Regions from separate parts of the Homo sapiens genome. Here regions 1, 2, 4, 5, 6 and 7 are each linked to region 3. Evidence: promoter capture Hi-C in 16 types of primary human blood cells and fetal thymus (Javierre and others, 2016). All regions are on one chromosome and are shown on one strand. The core of a region is centred on a gene start or on the middle of the fragment in contact, and the rest is flanking DNA. Distances in the headings are between cores, read along the strand shown. Region 1 has its middle 15 kb from the start of SMARCD2. Region 2 overlaps TEX2 (testis expressed 2). Region 3 holds the start of ICAM2 (intercellular adhesion molecule 2). Region 4 overlaps TEX2 (testis expressed 2). Region 5 has its middle 3.6 kb from the start of TEX2. Region 6 overlaps TEX2 (testis expressed 2). Region 7 has its middle 5.4 kb from the start of GH2.

What was found. The method cuts DNA at HindIII sites, captures the fragments that hold promoters and counts their contacts. A CHiCAGO score of 5 or more calls a contact.
Region 1: a contact is called between a fragment that was not itself captured here and the fragment with the promoter of ICAM2 in region 3, in 1 of 17 cell types (M1 macrophages). The highest score is 6.7, in M1 macrophages.
Region 2: a contact is called between a fragment that was not itself captured here and the fragment with the promoter of ICAM2 in region 3, in 2 of 17 cell types (endothelial precursors and monocytes). The highest score is 6.0, in endothelial precursors.
Region 4: a fragment that was not itself captured here is called in contact with the fragment with the promoter of ICAM2 in region 3 in 1 of 17 cell types (endothelial precursors); the score reaches 5.7 in endothelial precursors.
Region 5: a contact is called between a fragment that was not itself captured here and the fragment with the promoter of ICAM2 in region 3, in 16 of 17 cell types (naive CD4 T cells, megakaryocytes, fetal thymus and 13 more). The highest score is 11.0, in naive CD4 T cells.
Region 6: a fragment that was not itself captured here is called in contact with the fragment with the promoter of ICAM2 in region 3 in 1 of 17 cell types (naive B cells); the score reaches 6.1 in naive B cells.
Region 7: a contact is called between a fragment that was not itself captured here and the fragment with the promoter of ICAM2 in region 3, in 1 of 17 cell types (M0 macrophages). The highest score is 5.3, in M0 macrophages.

The regions. Positions count from the first base shown.
Region 1 is chr17:63,856,296-63,859,318 of GRCh38, reverse strand. It overlaps the pseudogene TCAM1P. Among named protein-coding and RNA genes, the nearest start is that of SMARCD2, 15 kb to the right of the region's middle. The HindIII fragment of the contact is 6,211 bases long and covers 1-3,023 here.
Region 2 is chr17:64,241,011-64,244,212 of GRCh38, reverse strand. All of the region lies in intron 1 of TEX2 (testis expressed 2), which reads left to right. Among named protein-coding and RNA genes, the nearest start is that of TEX2, 21 kb to the left of the region's middle. The HindIII fragment of the contact is 4,422 bases long and covers 1-3,202 here.
Region 3 is chr17:64,019,043-64,022,106 of GRCh38, reverse strand. It overlaps ICAM2 (intercellular adhesion molecule 2), which reads left to right and starts at 1,474. Exons shown (of 5, transcript NM_001099789.2): 1 at 1,474-1,584. RefSeq lists enhancers at 1,035-1,084, 1,305-1,394, 1,140-1,640, 1,735-1,854. The HindIII fragment of the contact is 3,360 bases long and covers 1-2,156 here.
Region 4 is chr17:64,197,223-64,200,584 of GRCh38, reverse strand. All of the region lies in intron 2 of TEX2 (testis expressed 2), which reads left to right. Among named protein-coding and RNA genes, the nearest start is that of SNORA50C, 53 kb to the right of the region's middle. The HindIII fragment of the contact is 1,717 bases long and covers 748-2,464 here.
Region 5 is chr17:64,265,371-64,268,391 of GRCh38, reverse strand. No RefSeq gene overlaps it. Among named protein-coding and RNA genes, the nearest start is that of TEX2, 3.6 kb to the right of the region's middle. The HindIII fragment of the contact is 6,256 bases long and covers 1-3,021 here.
Region 6 is chr17:64,216,218-64,219,553 of GRCh38, reverse strand. The region is part of intron 1 of TEX2 (testis expressed 2); the gene reads left to right. Among named protein-coding and RNA genes, the nearest start is that of TEX2, 45 kb to the left of the region's middle. RefSeq lists enhancers at 1,681-2,512, 2,715-2,914, 2,513-3,336. The HindIII fragment of the contact is 529 bases long and covers 1,280-1,808 here.
Region 7 is chr17:63,885,753-63,888,953 of GRCh38, reverse strand. No RefSeq gene overlaps it. Among named protein-coding and RNA genes, the nearest start is that of GH2, 5.4 kb to the right of the region's middle. The HindIII fragment of the contact is 325 bases long and covers 1,242-1,566 here.

The DNA of each region.
Region 1 (3,023 bases), core at 76-2,575, 160 kb after region 3:
CTTGCTCTGGTGGCTCTTTAAGACAAAAAGGCAGGACTTGATGAGCATGCCACCCACCTCTCCAGAAAGAAACAGCATAGGACAGAAAGATGAGGTGATACAAATCACAGAAGGTGACTGCCACCCTTAAACCATCTGATCAGCAATGTCAGCTTTCTGCCATCCCTGCCCTAGATGGGGTGAGTTAGTCTTCTGGCTCTTCTTCTTCGCATCAAAAGTGGCTATGGCCATAGCAAAGAAGAGTGACTGCTGAGGGAGAGTCCCTTGCTTTGACTGTTGCTGCCATTCTGGAAAGCATTGATCTCTTACCAGAGGGGCTTCAGAGGCAAGAGCAGCTTCCGGGGGCTCCTTAGCATCACATAAAATCTATACTGTAGCAGGCCAGGTGCAGTGGCTCACGCCTGTAATCCCAGTACTTTGGGAGGCCAAGGCAAGCGGATCACTTGAGGTCAGGAGTTCCAGACCAGCCAGGCCAAGATGGTGAAACCCAGTCTCTACTAAAAATACAAAAATTAGCCAGGTGCGGTGGCAGGTGCCTGTAATCCCAGCTGCTCGGGAGGCTGAGGCAGAGAATTGCTTGAACCCGGGAGGCAGAGGTTGCAGTGAGCCAAGATTGTGCTACTGCACTCCAGCCTGGGCAACAGAGCAAGACTCCATCTCAAAACAAACAAACAAACAAACCAAACTATAGCTAACCAAGTTCTGACCCCATAGAGACCACATTTGCTTTCGTGCCATATCTTTGTCCATGTTATTTGCCCACCTGAAAGGCCTTCCTCACCTGTCCCCTTCAATTCAAACCCTAACTATCCTGGGGGAGGGCAGTGCAGGAGCCTCCTCTACCATGGAGCCTTCTCAGGCTGCCCCAGCTCACAAAAACCCTTCTCTCTCCAATCTCTGTTTATTCCAAGAGCTTGTAGCAAACAATTCAGCATTAATTTCATACTTTTTTTTTTTAAGAGACAGGATCCCACTCTGTTGCCCAGGCTGGAGTGCAGTGGTGTGATCATAGATCACTGCAGGCTTGAACTTCTAGGCTCCGGGGATCCTCCCACCTTAGCCTCCCAAGTAGCTGGGACCACAGGTGCACGCCACTATGCCTGGCTAATTTTAAAAACTTCTTTTGTAGAAACAGAGGTCTCACTGTGTTTCTCAAGCTGGTCTGAAACTCCTGGCCTCAAGTGATCCTCCTGCCTTGGCCTCCCAAAGTGCTGGGATTAAAGCATGAACCACTGTGGCCAGGCTAATCTTATACTTTTTGGTAATTTAACCATAAACATTATTAGCATATGTTTCCTGTATTGAAGATATTTTCAAGCACAGATAATCTGGATGCTCTCTATGGTCTGCTCCTAATTTAAAACTCAGAAGAAAGCCTACATCAAAGGGAAGTAGAAGTGGGCCCGGCTCACTTCTACTTGCTGGACTTGAGGTGGCTCACACCTGTAATCCCAGCACTTTGGGAGGCTGAGGCAGATAGATCACTTCAGGTCAGGAGTTCAAGACCAGCCTGGCCAACATGGTGAAACCCCTGTCTCTACTAAAAAAAATACAAAAATTAGCCAGGCATGGTGGTGGCTGCCTGTAGTCCCAGCTACTGGGGAGGCTGAGGCAGGAGAATTGCTTGAACCCAGGTGGAGGCTGCAGTTAGCTGAGATCACACCACTGCACTCTAGCCTGAGCAATAGAGCAAGATTCCATCTCAAAAAAAAAAAAATAAATGAAAAAGGTGATTGGATCTAGAATCCCTACAGTATGCCAGAAATCTTTATTAAGGGCCTTAATTATCTCCCCTAATTAGAAACATTTGTCCCATCCTTCCCTAAATAAGACATGTTCATGTTTCCCCATTCCTCCTTTCCATCCCCCTGCCCCCAGCCCTCAGCCCTACTCACAATACACAGTGATGCCAAGGCTTGTGTCCTTTTGAATCCCTGCACAAGAGAAGAAGCACTGCAGGATGGAATTCTCTGTGACATCCTCCAGAAGAAACTCTTTCCACTGAGGCCCTTTGCCCACCTGAGTTTTCTTTAAGAAGGTCTCAATTCCACTGGGTCCTGGGTCTGGGCAAGTAGTGCTGCAGTTGACCACTAGGGACTGTCCAAACTCCACCAGGGCCTGACTTGGCCAAATAGAAACCTCAAACAACTCTTCCGGGACCCCTGAAATATGAACCACATCGGCCAGGCGCGGTGGCTCACGCCTGTAATCCCAGCACTTTGGGAGGCCGAGGCGGGCGGATCACAAGGTCAAGAGATCAAGACCATCCTGGCCAACATGATGAAACCCCGTCTCTATTAAAAGTACTAAAATAAGCTGGGTGTAGTGGCGCACGCCTGTAATCCCAGCTACTCGGGAGGCTGAGGCAGGAGAATCGCTTGAACCCAGGAGGCAGAGGTTGCAGTGAGCCGGGATTGTGCCACTGCACTCCAGCCTGGCAACAGAGCAGGACTCCATCTCAAAAAAAAAAAAAAAAAAAAATGAACCACATATGCCAATGACTCTGGTGAGGACCACGAGACCCAAATAAATACAGAACCTATTCTATCTAGTTCCAGGTTAGAGAACAGGAAACCTGCCCTGAAAAAAAAGGTTCAGACAACCAGACAGGACAAAAGACCTGTAATTGGCCGGGCGGGGTGGTTCACGCCTGTAATCCTCCCCACTTTGGGAGGCCAAGGTGGGCGGATCACCCGAGGTTGGAAGTTAGAGACCAGCCTGACCAATATGGAGAAACCCCGTCTCTACTAAAAATACAAAATTAGCCAGGCATGGTGATGCGTGCCTGTAATCCCAGCTACTCAGGAGGCTGAGGCAGAGAATCACTTGAACCCAGGAGGCAGAGGTTGCAGTGAGTTGAGATTGTGCCATTGCACTCCATCCTGGGCAACAAGAGTGAAACTCCGTCTCAAACAAACAAACAAAAAAAAACTGTAGTTAACAAGTTAGCTCTGATTTCACCACTATTCCCTCCACCTATCATCTTTCTTGAGAACTTGAATTCTCTATTAGTATCACCATGG
Region 2 (3,202 bases), core at 581-3,080, 220 kb before region 3:
GGCTCCCAGCTTGACAGAAATCTTTAGAGGCAGCTCAGAAAAACTTTGGTTTCCCAAAATAATCCAAAGGCTAAAGTTCTGCCACCCTTTAAAAGAGTAGTGTTTTGGCTGGGCGCGGTGGTTCACACTTGTAATCCCAGCACTTTGGGAAACCGAGGCGGGCGGATCACGAGGTCAGGAGTTCGAGACCAACCTGGCCAACATAGTGAAACCCCGTCTCTACTGAAAATACAAAAGTTAGCTGAGCATGGTGGTGCATGCCTGTAGTCCCAGCTACTTGGGAGGCTGAGGCAGGAGAATCGCTTGAACCCGGGAGGTGGAGGTTGTAGTGAGCCGAGATCCCACCACTGCACTCCAACCTGGGCAGCAGAGTGAGACTCCATCTCAAAAAAAAAAAAAAAAAAGTGGTGTTTTAACTTCTTTTGGGACATAGTCACCATTTAGGACTCTGAACACTATGAACTCTCTCCGCAGAAATCCGCACATGTACACACAGACCAAAACTTGCATGCATGTGTGTGTTAAGAACCCTTCATTTAAAATAAGATGCAAAGTTTTGAAGAGAAAGTTTGCTGCTGTTACAGACACCATTTTCCCTTGAGTGTTAAAGCGTTCAGCTGGGAATGTCCCTTGTTGGTTGTTCCTCAGTAAGATTAGCAGAGCTGGAACCTGCCAGCCAGGCCTCATTTTGAGACTTGTACAGCCTGACAGTAGTGCTTCCAAAAGATGCACCTCCCCACTCACATCAGGAGCTGAGGCCCAGTGTTTCCCCCAAGGGTCTTTTTGAAGAAGACATTTTTGTCTAATAACAGTTTTATTATTTTTATTATTGAAAAAGCTGTACCAACTCTGTATTCATTTTCCTGGTTATTCATATGCTTTTTTCCCCTGAGAGTCAAAAGATGGGTTTAACCTTTGACCTTGTGGGTTTTTATGGCCTGAAATTAATTTTTTAGAGAAATTGCTTTATCTTTAAAAAAATTTTTGGCCGGGTGTGGTGGCTCACGCCTGTAATCCCAGCACTTTGAGAGGCCGAGGCAGGCGGATCACGAGGTCAGCAGTTCGAGACCAGCCTGGCCAATATGGTGAAATCCCGTCTCTACTAAAAATACAAAAATTAGCCGGGTGTGGTGGTGTGCGCCTGTAGTCCCAGCTACTCGGGAGGCGGAGGCAGAAGAATCGCTTGAACCTGGAGGGCAGAGGTTGCAGTCAGCTGAGATCGTGCCACTGCACTCCAGCCTGGGTGACAGAGCAAGACTCCATCTCAAAAAAAAAAAAAAATTTTTTTTTTTTAGAGATGGGATCTCGTTATGTTGCCCAGGCTAGTCTCAAACTCTGGCCGCAAGTGATCCTCCCACCTTGGCTTCCAAACGTGTTGGGATCATAGGTATGAGCCCCTGCACCTGGCCAAATTGTTTTTTACATTAGTTATGAAGGAGGCATTGCGTGCCTGTATTATGTGTAACACAATTTGAGAATACATGTTTTTAACAAAGTACGTTATGAAAACTGCATATGTTGGATTTGTGTCCTGCTTTTAAGTCCTTTGCTGTACTTTCTCACAGGCTGGGAGGAGGATGATTCTGGTTCAGAGGCAGGCCCTGGCACCACAGGTCTGAAACTGCAGTCCTCTTGGTGGCAACAGCCCTTTGATTTCTACTTCCAAACCCCTGGTAGATCACATCCTGCAGAGGAGCCTTTATTTGTATGATCAAGATATGACAAGTTTCCACCACCCAGAAGTAGTAATTCCTCCCTTTTCTGGAAGGATCCTTTTCTTTGTTACAGCAACTGGATTAGATTTTCCATGTCCTAAAAGAAATGTATTTTCCCAGCAGAAACAACCTTATACAAAGTGGTTCCGTGGAGGAGAGAATTACCATGTTATAGTCCTCAGGAAGGCTTTTGTTCCTGGAAAGGATACCATTGAATAGTGACATCTGAGTTTTAAGGTAGATTTCACTTTCTTATAGCAACAGTGCTGTAATGTTACATTATGGAAGCTAAAACCTGATGCTCAACTTGTAAAATATACTCAACTATAAACATTCCTCTTCTGAACTATATGGAATTTTCTAAAAAGGACATAAATAGGTTACTTAGGTATTATGTGCAGTGTTCCTTCATTCATTCATTAAACTAATAAATATTTCAGTGCCAGCATTGGGATACAGCAGTGAATAAACCTAACTTTCTGCCACATACAGCATATTTTTCTTGTGGGGCAAAAAGTAACAGGTAGGCAATGTCAGACAGTACCGTTCTCAAAAATAAAGAGAGAGCCAGGTGCAGTGGCTTACTCCTGTAATCCCAGCTCTTTGGGAGGCTGAGGCAGGAAGATTACATGAGCCGAGGAGTTTGAGACCAGTTTGGGCAACAGTGAGACCCTGTCTCTATTTAAAACATTGAAAAACTAGCTGGGTGTACTGGCATGTGCCTGTAGTCCTAGCTACTCAGAAGGCTGAGTAGGAGGATTGCTTGAGCCCAGGAGTTCGAGGCTGCAGTGAGCTATGATCGCACGAGTGCACTCCAGCCTGGGTGATAGAGTGAGATCCTGCCTTTAAAAAAAAATAATAATAATTTTAGAAAGATAATAAGGGATGAGGAGGCCCCACTTTTAGGATGAGGTAGTCAGGAAGGTCTTTCTGAGAATGTGACACTTGAGCTGAGACCCGCTGTTATTTTTACTACAACAAATTTTAGGAGTAACAATTATCTTTGGGATCTTGGAATTCAGTGAGGCTTCTTTTCACAGATTTTGATAGATTTGTTTGAAGGACCTCTTGAGGAGTTAGGACTTTGGTGTCAGTGTCCTTTTGAGAGAGAGACCCAGCCATATCTGTTTTTTCCTTATTGTCAGTTTTCCTGCGGCAAGAACTGGAGGAGAGATGAAATTACCGCTTGGCCTCTTGGCCGCAGTTCAAAGCAGAACTGAGCATCTTCCTGCTCACTGGTCGGCTTCTGAGCTCAGCACTGAACCTAGCTGCCAGACATTAGACAGTAGTTCCCAACTGTCTTCCAGACGCATGAACCGACCCCTCAGCAGTCACTCCATGAGCTCTGACAACCCCAAATGCTTTCCCTGGATTTGTCACTGCATCTGGAGGCCAGCTGGCTTCAGCATGGCCCTGAATCCCAGACACAGGAGCCTGGGCACAGGGTGAAGGATTGCGGCTGTTGGCCTGAGGCTATTTTTCTTCTG
Region 3 (3,064 bases), core at 225-2,724:
GCGTGGTGGTTCATGCCTGTAATACCAGCACTTTGGGAGGCTGAGGTGGGCGGATCATTTGAGGTCAGGAGTTCGAGACCAGCCTGGCCGACATGATGAAACCCCATCTCTACTAAAAATACAAAAATTAGCCAGTCGGCACGTGCCTGTAATCCCAGCTACTCAAGAGGCTGAGGCAAGGCCAGGCACGGTGGCTCATGCCTGTAATCCCAACACTTTGGGAGGCCAAGGCGGGCGGATTGCCTGAGCTCAAGAGTTTGAGACCAGCCTAGGCAACATGGTGAAACCCCATCTCTGCTAAAATACAAAAGAAATTAACCAGGCGTGGTGGCGTGCACCTGTAGTCCCAGCTACTCAGGAGGCTGAGGCAGGAGAATTGCTTGAACTCGGGAGGCGGAGGTTGCAGTGAGCCGAGATCACACCACTGCACTCCAGCACTCCAGCCTGGGCGACAGAGTGAGGCTCCATCTCTACAAAACAAACAAACAAACAAACAACAACAACAACAACAAAAACACTGAGGCAAGAGAATCGTTTGAACCTGGGAGGCAGAGGTTACAGTGAGCCAAGATCACACCACTGCACTCCAGCCTGGGCAACAGAGCGAAACTCCATCTCAAAAAAAAAAAAAGAAAGAAAAGAGAAAGAGAGAGCTCCAGAGATGGATGGTGGTGATGGTTGCAGAACAATGTGAATGTACTTAGTGCCCCAAACTGTACACTTAAACATAATTAAAATGGGCCTAGCACGGTGGCTCATTCCCAGCATTTGGGAGGCTGAGGTGGGAGGATTGCTTGAGCTCAAGAGTTTGAGACCAGGCTGGGCAACATAAGCAACACTCTGTCTCTACAAAAACTACAGAAATTAGCCAAGCCTGGTGGCTGCACACTTGTAGTCCCAGTCACTTGGGAAGTTGAGGAGGGAGGGTCACTTGAGCTCAGGGGTCAGAGGTTGCCACGAACTGTGATTGTGCCACTGCACTCCAGCCTAGGTGACAAAAGCAAGACTCTGTCTTAAAAACAACACAACAAAAAATTGGCTGGACGCAGTGGCTCTTGCCTGTAATCCTAGCACTTTAGGAGGCCGAGGAAGGCAGTTCACTTGAGGTCAGGAGTTCGAGACCAGCCTGGCCAACATGGTGAAACCCTGTCTCTACTAAAAATACAAAAATTAGCCAGGCGTGGTGGCAGGTGCCTGTGGTCCCGGTTACTCTGCGGGCTGAGGCACAAGAATCACGTGAACTCGGGAGGCAGAGGTTGCAGTGAGCCGAGATCACACCACTGCACTCCAGCCTGGGTGACTGAGACTCAGTCTAAAAAAAAAAAAAAAATTGAAATGGTAAATTCTGTTGTGTACGTTTTACCACAATTAAAAAAAAAAAAAGCGGAATGGGAGTGGAGCTAAATGAGGCTAGTTTAGGGTGGGAACCGGGGCACAGGAAGCACGTCACTTCTGGTGGGGAGTGGGGGGAGGGAGAAGACTGAATAAGCCGTGAACTGGGCAGCTGTGACACGCGCACCTTGTCACCTTGTCACCAATTTCCTGCCCGGGATCCCAGAGCTACCCTTCTTGGAGCCCACAGGGGTAAGGTTGAGCTTCTCACTTTCCCTCCAATGAAGCGTGGCAGCATGGGAAGGATTTTGGCAGTGTCGAGGTCTGAGTTTTAGTCCGTTCCCCTCTCTGGGTCTCAGTTTCTCGCTGGTAAGTGCAGGGGTTGGGGAATCCCCAGCGCTCCTGTGGCTCGACATTCTGCACTCTGTGAAGCTCCTGCCCTGCCCTGCTGGGTCTCTGAGCTCACGCACTTGCCCTGGCGCTCCTTTCCTGATTTGTCTCCCCTCTCTCCTTCCTCTGCTCTGCCATCTCGGTGGCCGATGTAGAAATGTGGGGCTGCCTCCTTATTTAGGGGCCCACGTGGGCTGTGATCTGGACCATCTGAGCTGATGCAGAGGGGAAGGGACAGTCCCTGTTCTCCCCGGCAGGCGTGGTGGGTTCATAATGAATCTCAGTCACTCACTTCCTACCTGCCTCGGTTCGAGGGGGTCTTTCCTAACCCATGGCTCACATTCCCATGAAGCCTCTTCTTTCTAGGCACGTAGAAAGGCCCTTTTTCCCTTTTATTATTTTTGTAAAATTTACTAGGTAACGCATAAAAAGCTTATGTAACATACATATACATCATACTGCACAGTAATATACCAAACACACCTGAAGCTGCCACTCAGCACAAGGATGGAGTATCACCAAACTGCAAACACCACTTATCTGCTTTTTTTTTTTTTTTTTTTTTTTGAGACAGAGTTTTCATTCTTGTCGCCCAGGCTGGAGTGCAGTGGCACAATCTTGGCTCACCACAACCTTCGCCTGCTGGGTTCAAGCGATTCTCTTGTCTCAGCCTCCCAAGTAGCTGGGACTACAGGTGCGCATGCCACCATGCCCAGCTAATTTTTGTGTTTTTGGTAGCGACAGGGTTTCACTATGTTGGCCAGGAGAGTCTCGATCTCTTGACCTCATGATCCGCCCACCTCGGCCTCCCAAAATGCTGGGATTACAGGCGTGAGCCACCACACCTGGCCACCACTTGTCCACTTTTATGCTACTTGCCTCCCACCCACAGGTAGCCACCCTCTGGAATTTTGTGTTTATTGTTCTCTTATTTTTAAGTGCTTTATTACATATGCATCTCTATTTATTTATTTATTTATTTATTTACTGAGATGGGGTCACACTATATTTCCCAGGCTGGAGTGCAGTGGCTATTCACAGGCATGATCATAGCACACTACAACCTCGAACTCCTGGGATCCAGTGATCTTCCCACCTCAGCCTCCTGATTAGTTGGGACTACAGTCTTGAACTGCTGCACCTGGCTATGCCTATTTATTTTTATTTTATGAAACAGTTATATAGCGTTACTGTGTGCTAGGCACTGTTCTAAATGCTTTAAAATATTTACTTATTTTATTTGTTTAATCTGCACAAAAACCCTATGAGGAAGATACTATTATTGATTCCTTTTTGCAGATGAGGAAATTGAGGCACAGAAAGATTAAGTGATTTGCTCAAG
Region 4 (3,362 bases), core at 357-2,856, 180 kb before region 3:
CCTTTATCTGTCAGAGCTGTCAGCAAAGAAGGTAATTGCATACTCATCTCAGAACTGTGCCCATGTGTGAGCGAGCACACAGGCTGCAGCCAGCAAGAACTCCACAGTGGCTGTTCTTCAGCTAAGGTGGTAGCTCAGGTTGCTGGGTTGAATGCCTGGCTTTGTGGCTAAAAACCGAATCCCTGAAGCACTGTGGAAATGGTTGCTCTTGTTATCCAGGGACAGGAATTTTCCTAGGAATAATAATTGAGTAGCAGTTGGTTAGACTGGGGCAGAGTAACAGCTCAGCACCTGAAACTGACCTGTGAACAGATGAGCTGGTGTATGTATCTCAACACACATGCCTGTATGTCTTGTTTTGTTTTCTAAGTCTAAAAATCAAAAGAATAAGCTAAAAAAATGATATGTTTGTCTATTAATTATCTTAATTTTCCTATAGAACTATGAGTTTTTCAAAAGCCTCCTACATAGAATACTCTTATTAATATTTCTGAGTTTTTAATATTGCAGGTTAACTTTTAAAAGGGATTTTGAATTTCTACAATAGATTTCATTAGGTGATTACTTAGATTATCTTCTCTCATTTAATTATGCAAAGCATCTAATAAAATGGCAGAAAACTGCCATGTACTGAATGACTGTCTCTTATCACTAAGACTGAGTGTGTTGAAAGCATGCACAAGAAGAGAAAGGAAGGCTTTGCCCATTCTATTCATAGTTGAGCCAAGGGTCTAGGGCTAAAAAGCTTGAACCCAATAACTGGCCCTGAACTGTCTCTTATATACTAGTCCTGAGCCCTATGTGGCTGTTGAGCCCTTGAAGTGTAGCTAGTTGGAATCAAGATGTGTTCTAAGCGTAAAGTACGCACTGGATTCTGAAGACTTGGTATGAAACAGAATGTAAAATACCAGTAATAATTTTTAATATTGATTACATGTTGAAATCATAATTTTGATATGAATTTAAATAAAATACATTGTTTAAATTAATTTTACCTGCTTTTTCTTTCTTAATGTGGCTCTTAGACCATTTAAAATTACACATTTTCAGCAAGGCGCAGTGGCTCACGCCTGTAATCCCAGCACTTTGGGAGGCCAAGGTGGGTGGATCACTTGAGGTCAGGAGTTTGAGACCAGCCTGGCCAACATGGTGAAACTCCATCTCTACTAAAAATACGAAAATTAGCCGGGCGTGGTGGCACACACCTGTAATCCCAGCTATTCAGGAGACTGAGGCAGGAGAATTGCTTGAACCCAGGAGGTGCAGGTTGCAGTGAGCCAAGGTAACGCCACTGCACTCCAGCCTGGGCAACAGAGCGAGACTCCATCTCAAAAAAATAAAGTAAAAATAAAATTACATATTTTCATGATCACATTTATGGCTCACATTATATTAATATTTCCATTGTACAGCACCTCCCTGGACAAGTCTGCATTTTCTGATTTAGGAAAGACGAAATGAAAGCAATTGGAGAGAAACAACTTTTATCCCTAAGTTTCTCTTATTCATAAATCAGATAATTAACCTGTACAATCCCAGCAGTTTCAAATGGGAAAAATCCCCACAGCTTACTTTACTCTATTTCTCAGAGACTGTCCTTTTCTTGGAGAACAGTTTCATGTAATATAATACTTGTCTTTTTTTTCTCCTTTAGCCCTTCTAGTCTGGTGGTGAGTGGTTGATAAACATAATGCAGGGATTTTTGTCTGAAATTCCAGTATCATGTTAATCCTTTTTTTCTCATTTGGTGCCAGTATCATGTTAATTCTACTGGCTTTTGTACATGTATCTGTAATTCTATGTACCTGGAAATAACGAAAAATATTTTATATGGTGATTTGTCGCAGTAATGTCTATCTTATATCAAATTGTGATTATCATAATTCAAAAACAGCCATTAAATAAATGCTGAGCATCTCAGCTTAGGTATTAGGATGGACGAAGGCAGTATCACACATAATCCATATTCTCAAGTAGCCTCTACTCTAGCCAGCAGATGTGTGCTCAGAGTGAAATGATTCAAGAAGAGCAATTGCATGCAGGGACTGTATGGCCAAATGGCTCATAAATGACACTGATAACAAGTGGCTGTTTTGATCTAATAGAGTTCTCATCAGCTCCAACTTCCCCCCGCCCTTCATGGATTCTTCTTGGTTTTAGTAGCTCTGCAAGCATAAACAACCTCTGAAGTATCTTAGAAAAACGATTATATCTGCTTCAAGTTCTTTATTAATCTAGTTGCCTTTAGAACTTTAGCCCTGGTAAACCTGTTATATATGTAAGACAGTATTTTCTGCAACCAAATTGAATAAGAAGAAAGCTGTGTGTTCTGTGTCAGGAGATCTTTGGTGAAAATGGTTGTGCTTAAAAAGACAAATAAATATATTTATAGAAAACCCTACTCAACAGCAGAATGCATTTTTTTTAACTGCACTTGGAACCAAGATAGACCATATAACAAGCTTAAAAGAATTGAAATTATACAAAGCCTGTTTCCTATTATGAAATTACACTAAAAACCAGTAAGAGAGATATCTGAAAATTTCTCAAATATTTGGAAATTAAGCAAAATACTTCTAAACAGCCTGTGGGCCTAAAGATAAAGTCATAAGGGAAAATAGAAAATATTTTTAACTGAAGGAAACTGAAAATACAACCTATCAGAAATTGCAGGTAATACAGTGCCTAGAGGGAAATTAATAGTATTAAAAGCTTGTTAGAGGATGGGTGTGGTAGTTCATGCATGTAATCCCAGCACTTTGGGAGGCCAAGGTGGGAGAACTGCTTGAGACCAAGAGTTCAAGACCAGCTTGGGCAACATAGCAAGACTCCATTTCTACAAAGATCTTTTTAAAAAAATTAGCTTGGTGTAGTGACACGTATCTGTAGCCCTTGCTACTTGGGAGGCTGAGGTGGGAGGATTAATTGAGCCCAGGAGTTCCAGGTTACAGTAAGTTATGATTGTGCCACTGCAGTACAGCCAGGATGACAGAGAAAGACCCTGTATCAAATACATAGATGATAGATACATACATATATACATATATATGTGCATACATACATACGAAAAGAAAGATTTGAGAGAAGCACAAATTACCAGTGTCAGGACTGAAAGAGGGGGCATCACCATAGACACTACAGATATTCACAGGATTATAGGGAAATATTGTAAACAACATTATGCCCAGAAATTGGACAACATAGATAAAATAGATAAACTCTTTGAAAGATACAAACCAAAGCTTACTCAAGAAGAAATAGATAACCTAAATAGTCCAATAGCAAGTAAAGAAATTGAATTCATAGTTTGGGACCTTTCTGCAAGGAAAAATCTAGGCCCAGATAGCTTCATGGGCAAATGC
Region 5 (3,021 bases), core at 479-2,978, 250 kb before region 3:
ACCCTGGATTCTCCATACCTGGCTTCTGTGGCCAAGCCCCAGAGAGCCATCCATCCAACTCCACAGACCTGGTGCCACCACAAACGCATGGGTCTCCCAGAATCCTCCCTCTCCATCGGGCAGTTCCCACTTTCATTCCTCTTGGTGGCTTTCCAAACCCTCATGGTTCCCCTCAAAGCCCTTCATCATCCCCTCCCCACCCACTCTCGAGAGATGACTTTGCTTCCTACCCTGGCCCAGGGCTACTCTCTTGTCCCCTTGGGACTCCTTGGACCCTATCCCATCAGTCCTCCACTGCACAGTCTCTTCATTCTTCTTCTTCTTCTTCTTCTTTTTTTTTTTGAGATGGAGTCTCACTCTGTTGCCCAGGCTGGAGTGCAGTGGTATGATCTCAGCTCACTGCAATCTCCATCTCCCGGGTTCAAGCGATTCTCCTGCTTCAGCCTCCCGAGTAGCTGGGATTACAGGCATGCACCACCACGTCTGGCTAATTTTTGTATTTTTAGTAGAGACAGGGTTTTACCATGTCGGCCAGGCTGGTCTCTAACTCCTGACCTCAAGTGATCCACCCACCTCGGCCTCCCAAAGTGTTGGGGTTACAGGCGTGAGCCACTGCACCTGGCCGATTCTTCTTTTTTCTTAGCTCTTCTCCTCAGCCCAGCTCTAGGGAGCCTCTACATTTCCAGCCACATCTATGCTGCATGTGTCAATGACCCTAATCTTCTAATTTCGAAATCCCAGAGCATACTTTCAGGCCTCTTCTAATTTGACCATTCTGTGGCATCTGTTGCTGTTGACTGCTCTCTCTTTCAATCTCTTCTCCCTTGGGTTTGGTGACTCTTACTTGGGTTTTTGTAAACTTTCTGGCTTCTCTTCATAATGAACTTCATCTGGCCACCCCTAAAAACATTATTGGGTTCCCCAAGGGTTCTAAGTGCCTATTCTGTGTCCCCACGGCTCCTGGGCTTCCCTCTAAGGAAGCCTATAATGGTCTATCAACGTGTCAGTTTCTCTACTAGATCTAGCATCTACAAGTGCCTTCATCTCTATCCCCAGTACTCAGCCCGCCACCTGGTACTGAGTGCACAGTGATTGCTCATTAATGGTGTGGCTTGTGGCATGATGATCCCTAATCTTTGTTAGATATACAAGTGGATCAACTTTTTGGTTTTCTGTACTTCTTAACCATTTCTGTCTCCAAGAATGCAATGTCAAAAACAGAATTAAAAATCTTAGGCTGGGCATACTGGCTCATGCCTAATCCCAGCACTTTGGGATACCGAGGCAGGAGGATCATTTGAGCCCAAGGGTTCATGACCAGCCTGGGACAACACAGCAAGACCTCATCTCTACAAAAAGTAGAAAGAAATTAGCCAGGCATGGTGGCGCATGCCTGTAGTCCCAGCTACTCAGGAGGCTGAGGTGGGAGGATCACTGGAACCCAGGAGGTCAAGGCTGCAGTGAGCCATGAGTGTGCCAGTGCACTCTAGCCTGGGTGACGGAGAAAGACCCTGTTTCAAAACAAAAAATAAAATCTTAGAGCATTTTTTGGTTTGTTTAGAAATTGGTGAGAAAATAGGGATTATCTTGAAATGCAATAATTGGGAATCTTTCAAGTATATCAGAACCTATGTGGGCTTAACCTGATAGTTGAAACCTGGGTTTCAAGAGAGCCTGGCATGAGGGTTGAGGGGTTGGGGGTAGAGAAAGAGGGGAGAGTATTAGCTTGGGCTTGCATTTCTGTGACTTAAGATCCTACTCTAGGTGAAAAAATTTAGATCACTTGGTACATGCTATACATATAGAGTAGCTATCTGGGGGACAAAGTAAGGAATCTTGCTTGATATCTGAATTTAGCCTCACAATCCCTAACCTTTTTCAGAGGTACTACAATGAGTCACAGATGCCAAGCTCTAAAATCACTCTTTTAAGCATGATTTGAGCCAGGCACAGTGGCTCACGCCTGTAATCTCAGCAGTTTGGGAGAGGTTGAGGCAAGAGGATCGCTTGCACCCAGGAGTTTGAGACCAGCCCTGGCAACATGGCAAGACCCCATCTCAAAAAAGCCTGGTGGTTACGGTCATGAATGCTGGCTCTTCCTTCAACTAGCCCTGCTATCCTGGACACATCACTAATCTGTGAACTTCAGTTTCTGCATCCATAAAAAGGAGAAAATAATGGTCATATCTACCCTAAAGAGTTACTGTAAGGTTTCAGTGAACTGCTATGTTCCAGGGACTTGGCATAGTACCTGGCACATAGTAACCTCTTAATAGGTAGGAAACAGGCCAGGCGCAGTGGCTCACACCTGTAATCCCAGGACTTTGGGAGGCCGAGGCTGAGGTGGGCAGATCACCTGAGCTCAAGAGTTCAAGACCAGCCTGGCCAACATGGTGAAACCTTGTATCTACTAAAAATAAAAATAAAAAAAATTAGCCAGGTGTGGTGGCGTGTGCCTGTAGTCCCAGCTACTCAGGGAGGCTGAGGCAGGAGAATTGCTTGAAACCAGGAGTTTGAGACCAGCCTGGACAACATGGTCTCAAACTCTTGGGCTCTCCTCCTGAGCGGGGGTTGCAGTGAGCCAAGGTCACGCCACTGCACTCCCGCCTGGGCAACATGACAGAGGCTGACTCCATCTCAAAAAAAAAAAAAAAAAAAAAGGTAGGAAACATTATTGTGTTATGATATGTTCATTTATTTTTCAATGCATCCAAATTCCTCAGATTTCAAAAAGAAGGGATCCTTCTAAGTGTTCATGCTGGATCTTACTGGCTTCTAGTTTGAGATCTGGTTGGTAGTGTATTAATTAATTTAATGCTTACGTGGAGCTTGGTAGGGAAAGGAGGTTGGTGGGCACTCTGAGAGGCACATTGCCAGCTTCCAAGGACCTTTGCAAGGGGCAGCTCCAGGGCCCCTACCCTTTCTCTCTCTCTCTCCCTGAGGCAGGGGGCTGAAGATGTGGCCAAGGAGAGCTTCAGGCTGTGTCTCCATTGGTAACTGCCTTTGTTGCACATTTCCAGA
Region 6 (3,336 bases), core at 295-2,794, 200 kb before region 3:
TATTTTATTTTATTTTATTTTATTTTATTTTATTTTATTTTATTTGATGAGATGGAGTCTCACTCTGTTGCCCAGGCTGGAGTGCAGTGGCCCAATCTTGCCTTACTGAAACCTCCTTCTCTCAGTTTCAAGCGATTCTTGTGTCTCAGCCTCCTGAGTAGCTTGAATTACAGGCATGCGCCACCACGTCCAGCTGATTTTTGTATTTTTAGTAGAGATGAGGTTTTGCCATGTTGGCCAGGCTGGTCTCGAATTCCTGACCTCAAGGGATCCACCCACCTCAGCCTCCCAAAGTGCTGGGATTACAGGCGTGAGCCACTGTGCCTGGACTCCCTGTAGGTATTTTAAACTCATCTTGATGCATACTTGTAAAAACAAATCTATGCCTGATAATTCCATTATCTGAAGTCCTTATTTTTCTGTTATATTCTATTTCTGCTGGTCCTTAGTCTTGTTTCCTCATCTGCTTGGTTACCTTTGGTTATGTGCTTACCATTCATTGTATTTGAGAAAGTATTTCTCGGAATAACTTGAGGCTTCGGGTGAAAGTGCTTTGCTTTCGTGGGGAGAGAATTTCTTCTGCCAGGTCCCTGGAGGTATTTCTGGTCCAAGACCACCTTGGAAGAAGCTCATGGTTGAGATTCCCTGGTTCTTTCAGAGGAGGCAAACCTAGGCCTCCAGTCTAAGTGAGGCCTGGTTTGCTTCTGGTTCACCTGTTACCTAGTAGCTGTAGTCCTTTGGGGTCCCGGCTCCTTGAGGAAGAGTCTCCAGTTGGTGTTCCACGCTGGCCAGCCCTGGATGTTGACTTCTGCTCAGGAGGCTGTTAAAGTGAAAGGCTGCCGGGTGTGGTGGCTCACACCTGTAATCCCAGCACTTTGGGAGGCCAAGATTGGTGGATCACAAGGTCAGGAGTTCAAGACCAGCCTGGCCAATATGGTGAAACCCCATTTCTACTAAAAATACAAAAATTAGCCAGGTGTGGTGGCGGGCGTCTGTAGTCCCAGCTACTGGGGAGCCCGAGGCAGGAGAATCACTTGAACCTGGGAGGCGGAGGTTGCAATGAGCCGAGATTGTGCCACTGCACTCCAGGCTGGGTGACAGAGCAAGACTCTGTCTTTAAAAAAAAAAAAAAAAAAAAAAAAAAAAAAGTGAAAGTGTCCTTTGCCAGACTAGGCTAGGCCAATGCTTGAGGGCAAGGTGGCTTCTCTAGAGCTCATACCTCGGGGTTCCTGTTTTCTTTAGTTTCTGTACTGTTATTCCTTGCTCAGTTCTTGAAGCTTCAAAGCCTTTCAGACTTTTTTTTTTCTGGAGTCAGAGTCTCACTTTGTCACCCACGCTGGGGTGCAGTGCCACAGTCTCAGCTCACTGAAACCTCTGTTTCATGGATTCAAGCAATTCTTGTGCCTCAGCCTCCCTAGTAGCTGGGATTACAGGTGTGAGCCACCGTGCCCAGCCATTCAGAAATTTTTTTTCAATGTATTCATTGTTAGTTGTGTTCAGCAGAATTGTGAGCCTGATAATGGAGCCTGCCTTCCCAGACAACCAGACTCCAGACCTGTTTTTCCATGTTGCCTCTGCCACCCTCATCCATTCTGGGACGGGACGTGATTAATTTTGTGTACCACTTTGATCATGTCAGACTTTTGCTTAAACACCTCTCCAGCACGAAATCATACCTATGGGAGCCTGGCGACAACATGAGCTACAGCTCTCCTTCCCATCACAAGGCTTGGGGGGTCAGTGTTAAAACCCAAGGGCTTTGTAGTCTGCTGGAACTATGGGAAAAAGAGACTGTTGAGAAGGAAGCTTTCTTTTTTGGCCTTTCAGTTCCTGAGGGCTTGAGAGAAGCTTGTCTCTTTTTTTGAGCCTGGGTATAATTGAGTTTCAGGAGTAGAGGGCAGGAGGCTAGCCATTTTATATGGTACCAGATTGTCAGATGGATAATGAGACCTTTCATTTCTCAGTGCGGCCAGTCACATGCTGCTGGTTGAGAACTGAGGTCTTAGCTTGTAAGTGAGCTGTCCATGACGGAGCACAGAGGGCAGGTACAAAAGCTGGGACAAAGCAGGAATAAAGAGCGTGTGTGGCATGTTTGAAAAGGCACCCTGCCGGGCATCGGGCCTCAGTGTCAGGAAGCCCATGTTGTCAGTGCTGTGCCCTTGGACAAACCATGTAGTCTTCCTGGGTGTCAGTCAGGTCCTTCCTCTTGGCCTTGGCTGTCCTGCATGGCTGTGGCTGTGGGAGGGTCGGCTCAGTTGGCCTTAGCAGCCAGCCACTGGGAGGACAGAGAGAAGAGGGAACTTGAAGTGGTCCCCAGGAGGAGGCAGAGGCAGTGACCACTTGATAGGTTGTCTAGAGCCCAAACCATGGTCTCTGGTTCTAGCACACTCAATTACCCAGCAGTTTGGGGCCTGGAAGCAGCCTTTGTTTATCTAGCCTAATCCCCTCATTTTGCAGATGAGCAAACAGAAGCCTGGACATTTTCTTGTATTTAAAGAGCAGTAGTGATGCTCCGGCCTCGTGTGGCTTATTTTAGTAAAAATCTAGAGAAGTGGAACCAGGCTTTGGTTAGTGTGGGTTTGGGGGCATTTACTGTGAACCTCTGAGGCCACTGTCTGAGTGAGCCCTGGAGGACAATAACAACAGTGAGCCAGAGCCTGCCCCCATCTGGCCACCTGACACCCAGCTCTCCCTGGGGCCCACCTTCAGCTCTGTCCGCCCAGTCTGATCAGAGGTCGCTTTACCTGGCCAGTCAGGGGGCCCAAGTGTGTGGAGGATTAGGCAAGCAGGGTCCTGGTGACCTCCACACGAAAAATAACTCTGCTTCCTGAGCAGGTGCCAGCTTTTTGTTCCCTGGGGCCTGGCCTGACTGCTGAGACCGCAGGCTTCTGAACGCATTGCTGTTTTCACCCTTTGGCGCTAGGCTGGGCCTAACTTTGCCCTTAGATTCCCAGGCCTTCTTATCCTCAACTGCAGACGGGCCTCTCCACTCTTGCCTTGGTTCCTGAAGGACCGATTCACTCTGTTCAACCTCAAAATCATGCACTTTGTACTTGGACTTGTGCCCACAGTTACCTTCATTTATAGCCACCGCTGTGGGTGAAGCAGCCTCAGAACAGCAGAGCCTTACATATCATCCTTTTATGTTATGAAAGCAACTTAAATGAGTTTTTCAGCCCACTGAGAATTATCAAATACCAAACTTTTCTTTTTAAATTACCTCTATAATTTTCTTTTTAAATTGCCCTTATAAAACTAGGTGATAGTTAAATGAAAAACATATGTTGCTTCTGATATTTTTCTTCTTACTAAGCCTACAAATTCCTTAGCTTAAGA
Region 7 (3,201 bases), core at 155-2,654, 130 kb after region 3:
AATATATTTTTGGAAGCCAGGAACAATGTTTTGTTCACCACTGTATCCCCACTGCCTTGTATGTGGTGAAACCAAAGGGTTACTTTTACACTTAATCTATAGCACCAGACTCAGGGGAGGTCTGGGAAGAATGGGAAAACGTTTTCCCTCTGCTGTCTGATGCCATGGTTTTTTCTAGCTGGTATCTGCAATTTGGAAGGCTATGGACCTCTCTCTATCTGGAAGTCTGACCTTTAGCTTTCATTTTTGTTCCTTTATTTTGCTTTTGAGACAGGGCCTGGCTCCGTTGCCCAGGCTGGAGTGCAGTGCATGATCTCAACTCGCTGCAACCCTCCACCTCCCGTGCTCAAGTGATCCTCCCACCTCAGACTCTCAAGTAGCTGGGACTACATGCATGTGCCACTATACCTGGCTAAGTTTTGTGTTTTTTGTAGAAATGGGGTTTTGCCATGTTGCCCAGGCTATTCGCAAACTCCAGGGCTCAAGTGATTCACCTGCCTCAGCCTCCCAAAGTGCTGGGATTACAGGCGTGAGCCACCACACCAGCCTGAATTTCAGTTTTGAAAGCAGGTCAAATAGGCTGCTGCCCTCAGTTAATGCACCCCCGGCCCTGGGCTGGTTGTTTATGCTATCAACACGGTATTTTTTCCTTAGAAATTGTACTTAAAGTTATAAAATGCAGCCGGGAGTGATGGCTCAGGCCTGTAATCCCAGCACTTTAGAAGGCCGAGGTGGGTAGATCACGAGGTCGGGACTTCAAGATCAGCCTGGCCAAGGTGGTGAAACCCTGTCTCTACTAAAAATACAAAAAATTAGCTGGTCATGGTGGTGGGCGCCTGTAATCCCAGCTACTCTTAATCTATAGAGGCTGAGGCAGAGAATTGCTTCAACCCGGGGGTGGAGTTTGAAGTGGACCGAAATCACACCACTGCACTCCAGCCTAGGCAAAGAGCGAGACTCCATCTAAAAAAAAAAGTTATAAAATGCAGCCATTTGACATAAGAGCTTTTAGCAATGACACAGAAGGGAAGGGAACTGCATTTGGACATCATAAAACCACTTTTATTTTTACCATAGCAACATTCCAGTGAACATTTCTTGACTGATTTGGGAGAAAACATCTGGTTCTGTGATTCCTCACGCCTTCTCCGAGGGTGAATATACTCTTTCTCAAGGACAGGGAAAGAAGCTGAAACATAAAATCATATGAACATTTTCACAAGAAGATTCCTCTTGAAGCTTCAAGGAAATTGTTTACAGACAGAAGAAAATATGCACTTATTGATGAAAAGGGAGAGTAAAGATTGGAACTTTAACCTAGATGCCCATATGGGTAAAAAAAAGAAAACTGGCAAATGCGAACTCACAGTTGATCACTCTATGAAAAGGAATTCAGAGATGTTTGGAGCTCTTAACCTATGAGGCCAATTTCATGGAAGAACTCTACCTTCTCCTTCAGAGACAGAATACTGAGCTAGATAGGATGCCCGTCTGGCCCAAAGTGGAATTTCTTACCATCTGTATACTCCCCCAAGACCCGCAACAGATGGTTACTGAGTTGAAGCTTGCCACTGATCCTTAATGATGTCAACAAGCTCAGCTCTGGGAGCTGGCCCTCCAGAAGCCCAGGTCAGGGGAGCAAGGGAAAGTGGAGATAGGAACAGAGCTCTGATTCCTGGCCCCATATTTGATACTTACTCCCTTCAAAGTCCTGTCCTTGGACTACAGATTTAGTTCCCAGTTAGTAATCAGAAAACCATGAAATATGAGTTGTATTTCTAAGATATGCCTGACTTTAGTATGATGTTTAAGAGAAAAGGGCAGTGAGAACCATGAAGAAACGGCAAGATCTTTTCTTTTTTTTTTTTTGGATCTAAGAGTGGACTGATGATGCACCTGGCAAGGAGCAAGAGGCCTTCTTACAAATCAAACATTGAGACTGAGATTCCTAATGAATAGAGTGAGCTCTAAAGAGAAAGGTGGCTGGGCGCGGTGGCTCACACCTGTAATCCCAGCACTTTGGGAGGCCAAGGTGGCCGGATCACTTGAGGTCAGGAGTTTGAGACCAGCCCAGCCAACATGGTGAAACCCCATCTCTACGAAAAGTACAAAAATTAGACAGGCATGGTGGTGTGCACCTGTAATCCCAGCTGCCAGGGAGGCTGAGGCAAGAGAATCACCTGAACCCGGGAGGCTGCAGTTGCAGTGAGCCAGGATCGCATCATTGCACTCCAGCCTAGGCGACAACAGCAAGACTCCATCTCAAAAAAAAAAAAAAAGAAAAAGAAAAAGAAAAGAAAAGAGAGAGAGAGAGAGAATGGTGAGCTTGTGGACATATTGGACACACAGGACATGGGGCATGGGGGCCTGAAACACCGTTTTACAGGACAGACGTACACAAAGGGGAATGCAGCCTGCCATTGTGTTTCTTCCTTTCTCCTCTATCCCTTCTTCCCTCCCTGGGAAACCACAGTAGCAGAAGTCTCATTCAATCAAACAGTTGTCAATTATATGAGTTGTACTTTTCTCTTCCTGAACAGCAAACTGGCTTTCCTCCTCTTTGTCCTCCTCTTTCTGCCTATAGAGCAATTTCCTCCTGTCCACTTTGCAGGGCCGATAGCTCAAATACAGTGCTATGGTGATGACACCCACTCCAAGGGCAACGGTAATAATGACAAAGAGGGTAGAGCTTATTCCTTCATCCAGTCCTGCCCAAGCACAGAAGATAGAGTTAGGAAAGTCTGAGAGTACAAGGATCACCCACCCCAGCCCACCAGGCCCACTTCTGAGTCTCATTCTTCCCAACCTAGTAGAATCTTTCTTATTTTCATGCTTAGATAAGAATCCCAAACCCCTGAGGGGTTTCCATCCTGGGCCTGGCAGCAGGGCAGCAAAGGTTACCTTGAACAATGACAGCAATGTCTTTGCTGACAGAGCCCAGCTGGTTAGTGGCTGTGCAGCGGTAGGTTCCAGTGTGGTTCTGGGTTGCCTTCTGTGGCACTTCAAGGTCAAAGACCACCCCATTCCAGGTACACACCAAGGCTGGAGCTGGGTTTCCCTTTGGGACGCAGGTGAGCGTGTGTTCCATCCCTTCCAGCCAGGTCTGTTTGGCAGAGCAACTGGATTCCTCTAACCGTGGTTGGTCTGCAGAAACAGTATCCCAAGGAGCTGAGTTCAGTGCACCACACTCCCTCCCTACTT